2 separate regions of the Homo sapiens genome follow, and region 1 is linked to region 2. Evidence: promoter capture Hi-C in human tissues and cell types (Jung and others, 2019). All regions are on one chromosome and are shown on one strand. The core of a region is centred on a gene start or on the middle of the fragment in contact, and the rest is flanking DNA. Distances in the headings are between cores, read along the strand shown. Region 1 overlaps STX8 (syntaxin 8). Region 2 holds the start of PIK3R5 (phosphoinositide-3-kinase regulatory subunit 5).

Region 1 (3,960 bases), core at 604-3,103, 410 kb before region 2:
CAGAAGTGGAGTTGTTGGATAAAATGGTAATTCAGTTTTTAAATGTTTGAGGAACCTTCATATTAGCCTGGCTTGGTTTTGCTTTCAGCCTCTAAACTCTTAGGTACTTTCCAGTATTTTCTTTTTCTTTTTCTTTTTCTTTTCTTTTCTTTTTTTTTTTTTGAGATGGAGTCTTCTTGCTCTTGTTTCCCAGGCTGGAGTGCAATGGCATGACCTCAGCTCACTGCAACCTCCGTCTCCCAGGTTCAAGCTATTCTCCTGCCTCAGCCTCCTGAGTAGCTGGGATTACAGGCATGCACCACCACGCTGGGCTAATTTTTGTATTTTTGTTAAAGACAGAGTTTCTCCATGTTGGTCAGGCTGGTCTCGATCTCCTGACCTCAGGTGATCTGCCCACCTCAGCCTACCAAAGTTTTGGGATTACAGGCGTGAGCCACCGCGCCTGGCCCACTTTTCAGTATTTTCCTTAAAAAAAAAAAAAAAAAAAAAATGAGGGCTGGGCGTGGTGGCTCATGCCTGTAATCCCAGCACTTTGGGAGGCCGAGGCGGGTGGATCACAAGGTCAAGAGTTCAAGACCAGCCTGGCCAACATGTTGAAACCCTGTCTCTACTAAGAATACAAAAATTAGCCAGGCGTGGTGGTGCGTGCCTGTAATCCCAGCTAGTTGGGAGGCTGAGGCAGGAGAATCGCTTGAACCCGGGAGGCAGAGATTGCAGTTAGCCGAGATCATGCCACTGCACTCCAGCCTGGGCAAAAAAGCATGACTCCATCTCAGAAAAAAAATTAATAAATAAAAATAAAAATAATTTTTTTAATCTGATAAAGCCAGACACTTCTGTAGCCTGAGAGGGGCAGGCAAATGGGGTGGAAATTTAGTCCCTGGGCACCCACTCTAATTAGGAAATGTCATGGGAGACCCTTCCCACAAGAAACTGGGACCCCAAAGAGCTACACCCTCAGAGTAAAAGTGAACCAGAACTAAACTTACCATGGGGGGTTGTGGAAAGGGCAGCGTTGGCACTGAGCAGAATAGGAGAAGAAAAAGACGGGAGGGAAAATACAGTATTGACAACTTGTGGTCACAGAAAGGCCCACATGTGAATTTGCCCCCTGGACATACATACTCAGGGTAGACCGGGAAACATCATACCATGAATTTGGTTTGAGGCAGACTCACCTGTTATAGCTCGAGGTGCCTGGCAAAAACAAATGAAATGCCTCTGGAGGAAAGCATATTCTAGGATGCTAGGAGCCAACTAAAAATAAATTTCTAAGGGCAATGACCAGCACATAGTCAAATATATTCTAGCATACCCGGAAACAGCACAGCATGAGTGAGGACCAGCAATAGACCATGGACATGAATCTGAACAGAATTGCAGTAGTAGAATTATCAGACGTTGATTATAAACTCAATTCCACTTTTTAAAATATATTTTAAAAATGACAAGCTTGAAAGCATCTTAAGAAACCCGAAAACTATAATAAGTAACACAGAAATTTTGAAAAGGGACCAGATAGAACTTCTAGAAATAACAGGTAACTGAAATTAAAAAATCCAGTGAACATATTTGGTATCAGCAGAAGAAAGAATCAACCAGAGGACAAACCAGAAGAAAGAAAAAAAAAAAAAGCATAATCCATTTGATAAATGTTAGCATCTTGAAGAGAATGCCCAAATGCTAGGCAGTTAAATTATGATCTTAATAAGAAAGGCGTTTGAGGGGCAGAGGGTTGGTGCAAGAGCTTCGAGATACAGCGAAGAGTTAACCACCTGCTCTTCTCAAGTGCAAAGCCACATTGGCTGTTTTATATATGAACACATACAAATGCATAATCAAACTGCAAGCAAGGTGTACTTTAACTATAGGGGGTGGGAATTAAGCAGCCCAGTGGAGTGTAACTCAATTACCATTCACAGGGCAATTCTATCACTGTTTAAGAGGACTTGGGTGCAGTGTGGATAGCAGCCGCCACATCATCATTTTACACAAAGGAGTGTAAAAATAGGTTGTGAATCATGAAATGGCCTTTTGTTTCGCTACCCTTGGCATATCTTCCTTGATGGGCCGATGTATCAGTCATAGATGCTTGAGCAGTGAGAGAATTTCTAGTTATGAATACAGACTGAACTGCAAGGGGCCACACAGGAGAGAGGCCCGATGATGAATTTGTTTGTTCAGTTCTTAACAAGGGATTCAAGTACCTCTTTGTGAACCTTTCACTCAGGAGCACAGGCTTTAAAATTTTTACCGAGATTTTTGTGTGGATTTTCCTCCCTTTTCCTCCCTCAACCCCACCCCAATGATAGCATCAAGTAGAAAACAATACTGTTTTTTTTTTTTTCTAGCTTCTAAATGCAAATTAGACTGATATTTTTCCACTGGTACCTCTATGTATTTTCAGATCTGTTACTTCCATTAAGGACATTTACATAAAAGTAGGATCTTTGTAATTGCAGTTTAAATATTCAGTGTGCTTGGTCCTCATTAGAATTCAAAATAGAGCCTTGTCTGAGTCTGACAGAGGGCGCCAATTGTGAAAGACCAGACTAAGAATTCTGAATGACTCGGGTGGATGTACAGTCTTGCTTCTCAGCATATTGACTATTACGTAATGTTGTCTAAGCACGTTTATTGTGATTTTAGTAGTGTTTCAGTGATGTGGTTAGAAATCAACCCAGCTGACATTGCATTAATGCTGTCTCAATCGACGACCATTGGATCTGCCTTCAGCTCATCTGAATGTGATCTTCTTAGGGAGGTGGGGCAGGACCCTGGTTAAGAGTAGTAGCATGCAGCACAGGTGTGGCGTCCGACAGTCCTGGGGCACAATTTGGGATCTGCCACTTACAGCCTGGGTGACTTAGAGAGCTGCTTGCCCTCTCTAAGTCTCAGTTCCCTTCACTCTAAAAGGAGGATAGCAATTAGTAGTACATGTGATTGTTCTGTAGACTAAGTGAGAACAGTTAGGTGGCACAATGACTAGTACTAGTGAGTCCTTTATAAATGCCAGCTATGATAAGATGTGGGGTTTAATTCATTTTTGTTTTTTGAGATGGAGTCTTGCTCTTTCGCCCAGGCTGGAGTGCAATGGTGTGATCTCGGCTCACTGCAACCTCCGCCTCCTGAGTTCAAGTGATTCTCCTGCCTCAGCCTCCCAATTAGCTGGGATTACAGGTGTGTATCACCATGCCTGGCTAATTTTAGTATTTTTTAGTAGAGACGGGGTTTCACCATGTTGCTTAGGCTGGCCTCAACCCCCCAGCCTCAAGTGATTGCCTGCCTCAGCCTCCCAAAGTGTTGGGATTACAGGTGTGAGCCACCGCACCTGGCTTGCTTTTTTTCTTTTTTCTTTCTTTTTTTTTTTTTTTTTTTTTTTTGGTACAGGGTCTGTCTGGTCTGTCATCCTGGCTGGAGTGCAGTGGCACTCACTGCAACCTCCACCTCCCAGGCTTAAGTGAGCCTCCCACCTGAGCCTGCTGAGTACCTGGGACTACAGGCACTCGCCGTCATGCCTGGCTAATTTTTATTTTATTTTTTATAGACAGGATTTCACCATGTTGCCCAGGCTGGTCTCAAACTCCTGGACTCAAGCGATCTGCCTGCCTCAGCCTCCCAAAGTGCTGGGATTACAGATGTATGACACTGTGCCTGACCAACATGCTTTTTATCATATTAGCTCTTTTGAACCTTATAAAACATAGGTAAGAAACTGAGTTCTAAGTAGTCTTGTTTATTTAACAGACTTTAGAGCTACTTTTGTCTCTCAGAGAATTATTTTTAATCTTTTACCACAAGAATAAGCAATTAATCTGGAACAAAGAAGGAACTATGCCAGTTCCTTTATTTATCATGCTGTTTATCAAGAATATTTCTATCTGGCTATTGTTTTTACTTCTTCTTTCCCTTATCATGGTTCATTGAGGTAAGCTAGTTAAATCTCTTGGCCCCTTTTTC
Region 2 (4,010 bases), core at 657-3,156:
TAGGAGTGAGCACCAATGAGCCACTCTTTTGCAGTTTTCCTCCATTTTCAGAAGGCAGGCATCCCATAATTTCTCTGGCAGATTATTTGCCTTTCCAAGTGCTCTCCTAATCCAACATTTCCATCTGGCACACAGTGTCATTCTTGCTCCTGAATTCCTGATTCCAGAGCATTTCTGCCATTTTCTTCCTTTGCACAGTGTGTACCTTCCCTCTTCTCCTCTTCTTCCAAATGTCCATATTTTTGTGGTGGAAAAAGTGGGGACAGGGGAGACAGAAGACTGGAATCCTTATCAAGTCCTCTCTCAGCCCTTGGTGGCTCTGGTTCCTTCTCTGTGAAAGGGTGACGTGTGGGGAAGGGGTTGGGGATGAGGTAGGAGAGGGGGTCTGAGTTCCTTCCCACGTCTAACGATGGCTGGAACCAGGCCTCTGTGTTCAACCAAGGGTACTTTCTGTTTCTGTCCATTTGGGGAAGTTGCTTTTTCTTGGTATTTCGGGAGTCAGGAAAAGAAAAGTCATTGGTGTTCATATCTCTCAAAGCCTCAGGTAGGGCTGCGGCTTTTGACCAACAATAACGTATGACCATGACCTTGTGGCCGAGTTTGCACGCCTCTAACAGATATTATGACACAGTTCCATTCAATAGTGGAAGTGGAGATTTCAGCGTTGCCCTTTGTTAACCCACAAATGAAGTGCTACTCTTCCATTGTGAGGGCTGTCGGAGCAGTAGCCAACCTTCTTATCCCCATTTTTTAAACGAGGGAAAGGAGGCATAGGAAGCGCAGTGTCTTGTGGGATTCCCTGGGGAGTCCTTCCAACTCTTGGTAGAGCATCATCTGCAACGTCGTCTGGGGGAGAAAAGGGGGAGGCAAGAAGAGGGCCTTGACCCTGGAGGCAGGAACTCCCGCACACCCTCACTCCCTTCCCCAGGGGCTGGGGAAACCACTCAGGTGACAGTAGCCTTGGTGCCGGCCAGGGAGGGCGGGAAGTCCAGCCAGAGGCTGGAACAGCAGTGCTGAACGCCGGGACTGGCTGGTATTTCTATGAAGGTTCCTGCAGAAGGATGCGGGTCAAGGTGCCCGTCTGCACAGCAGTAGTGCAGGCATTTTAAGGGTTAAGGGCACCCAAAGAAAATAGAAGTAGGGGCCGGGCGCAGTGGCTCACGCCTGTAATCCCAGCACTTTGGGAAGCCGAGGCGGGCGGATCACGAGGTCAAGAGATCGAGACCATCCTGGCCAACATGGTGAAACCCCGTCTCTAGTAAAAATACAAAAAATTGGGCGTGGTGGCGCGCGCCTGTAGTCCCAGCTACCCGGGAGGCTGAGGCAGGAGAATCGCTTGAACCCGGGAGGCGGAGGTTGTGGGGAGTCAAGATCGTGCCACTGCACTCCAGCCTGGCGACAGAGCGAGACTCCATCTCAAAAAAAAAAAAAAAAAAAAGAAAGAAAATAGAAGTAGGAAGAGGAAGTGGGTCGCAGTGAGAGAAGGAAGCAGCTCGTCGGAGCTTCCTCTTTCTCGTCTTTCCCCTAAGCCCCTACCCCAGACCTGCCCCCCTGCTCCGCCCAGCCCTCCTGCGGGGCCAAAGCCGCGCTTCCGACGCGGGGGCCTAACCTCCCCTTACTCCTTGGGGGTCGCTGGTGCTCCGCGCTGGTGCCCCTCGGGCCACTGCCATGGACCGGCCAGGGTCTGCTTCTTCCGAGGGCTGGCGGGTCAGAGCCGGGGCTGCTTCTCAGACGCCTTGCGGCCTCGGGGGCGTGACCCAGAGGATGTGGGGCCGGGCGCGCACCTGGCTGACGCTGCCGGGCCGCCAGGTGGCTGGAGAGGCCGGCTCCGCGGTCAGCCCCGCCCCATTAGGCCCCGCCCCCTGACAGGCTCCGCCCCGCCCGCCGGAGGAGCCCAGGCTGGGCAGATGCTGCGGCTCGCCGCGCGGCTCCAGCTGGGGCGCGGTGGTCCCGACGGTCACCCGAATCGCAGGGAGTCGCCGCTGGAGAGGGGCTCGGCGCCCGGCGGGGACTGCAGGTGTGTGACTGGGCGGCCAGGGCGGATGCGGAGGGCACGCATGGGAGCTCCAGGCAGAGCTGGAGCAAGCTGGGGACCGTCGGGGAGAGTGGGCTCCGCGAGCAGCCGCCGCAGCCCGAGGGCTGGACAGATCCTGCTATCTTCCGGCCCCGTGGACCTGGCCCACCGCGGGGGCAGCGGGTCTGCAAACCTGCGCTCCAGATAACCCCAGAGACTTAAGGGGCGTCGCGGGGACCACTTATCGTTATCCGGGTAACCTCTGCTGGGCGGCTCTGCGCAGCTGTGTCCTCAGCCTCCTGCCTCTGACACAGGACGCCCTGTGTCGTAGGGTCAGGTCCCCTGCCCGCTCCAGCGGGGAACTGTCCGTGAGCGTGGGCATCAGGGCTCTTGTGCCGTCAGAACCTGGGAGTCATGGAAGTGCCCGCGTAAGGCGCCCTCCGTCGAGCCTCACTCAGCCTGCTAGTTAGCCAGCCTTGGGCCCAGACGCGGCTGCTGTCCTAGAGAACTGCACGCTTTCTGCTCTCAGAGGATCTGTGTTTACACACTGGACATCCCCGCGTGACTCGTGTGTGTGTGTGTGTGTGTGTGTGTGTGGGCATGCGCATGTGCGCGTGCTGGCCCATCCCGGCCTGGGGTAAATACACAAAAAGTTCAGGTCAGTAGGAGGAAGGAGATTGTTCAGAAGGAAAAGGAAGGCGAGGTTAAAGCAGCAGGATGTGGTATAAAGCGAGTTAACAAGACTCGGAGTAGAGAGGAGGGGTGGGTTTAGGCAGAATAAGGGCTAAAAGTAGGCCAAGCCTGCCTCCAAGGTCCTCTCTGGACTGACACCCTCGTTTTCCTTCTGTGTCTTCTCATCCACCCCACACTTTCCTTCCTGCCCTCAGGACCACCTGTAAGGCACTGGCTCCCAGAGCTGACTGCAGGTAGGGCTCTCTTGGAGCCAACCCTACAACGTGGCTTTCCAGGGATGGGATCTGGAATCTGTAGTTTTCAAAACTTTGAATGAGCTCCTTAAGTGATGATGCTGAAGCCGTTGCTTGGGAACCATGCATGATGTGGAAAAGAGACCCAAGTTCCAACCGGATCCAGCTGTGTGACCTGCAGCATCACACTGTCCCCCAACCCAGCCTCAGTCTCCTGATTCATAAAATGGGCTGTCATACTGACCCATAGAGCTGTGTGGAATTATTATTATTATTATTATTGAGACAGGGTCTTGCTCTGTCACTCAGGCTGGAGTGCAGTGGCGTGATCATGGCTCACTGCAGCCTTAAATTCCCAGGCTCAAGCAATCCTCCGCCTCCGCCTCCCAAGTAGCTGGGATTACAGGTCAGCACCACGGCGCCCAGCTAATTTTTGTATTTTTTGTAGAGGCAGGGTTTTGCCATGTTGCCCAGGTTGGTCCCAAATTCCTTGAGCTCAAGCGATCCGTCTACCTTGGCCTTCCAAAGTGCTGGGATTATAGACATGAGCCACTGTGCCTGGCCCAGTGTGGAAAATTAAGTGAGGCATGTATGATGAGAACGGCTGCACGTGGGAGATGCTCCGTGGATGTTTGTAGAACGCTGGCTTCCGTGTTTCCTCGTTGTGGCTGTGGTGGTGTGGGTCTTTGCCTGTGGACCCGTGGAAGACAAAGAAGACAGTTTTGGATGGTCAAGCTACTTTCTTGCTTCAGGGCTCCCTCCCCTGCTTTTTGAAGCCTCACAAACCAGGACTGTGAGGGCAGGAAGGCTTGGGGTCTTTGTGTGCTGAGCCTCATTAGGGTTTTAAGAACCTCCCTCCTTTCATCTCTAGCTTACGAGAGGGATGATTCATTATCTTCCCTCCTCAGGCTGCAGTAGAAGCAGACAGTCTCTGCCTCCCTGCTTGCCTTTCCTCCCTCCCATTCACTGTTGATTATTGCCCTCAAGAATAACAGGTTGCCCAGCTACTCGAGAAGCTTAAGTGGGAGGATTGCTTGACCCCAGGAGTTCGAGGCTGCAGTGAGCTATGA

Evidence for each region. Contacts are between HindIII fragments. The study calls those that stand out against the background at their distance.
Region 1: a fragment that was not itself captured here is called in contact with the fragment with the promoter of PIK3R5 in region 2 in 1 of the 25 tissues and cell types used here (thymus).

What each region holds. Positions count from the first base shown.
Region 1 is chr17:9,369,310-9,373,269 of GRCh38, reverse strand. All of the region lies in intron 7 of STX8 (syntaxin 8), which reads left to right. Among named protein-coding and RNA genes, the nearest start is that of STX8, 200 kb to the left of the region's middle. The HindIII fragment of the contact is 5,571 bases long and covers 1-3,960 here.
Region 2 is chr17:8,963,603-8,967,612 of GRCh38, reverse strand. PIK3R5 (phosphoinositide-3-kinase regulatory subunit 5) reads left to right here and starts at 1,906. Exons shown (of 19, transcript NM_001142633.3): 1 at 1,906-2,017. It overlaps PIK3R5-DT (PIK3R5 divergent transcript), which reads right to left and starts at 1,766. Exons shown (of 3, transcript NR_184080.1): 1 at 1,610-1,766; 2 at 1-846. RefSeq lists silencers at 1,493-1,592, 1,663-1,982. The HindIII fragment of the contact is 11,271 bases long and covers 1-4,010 here.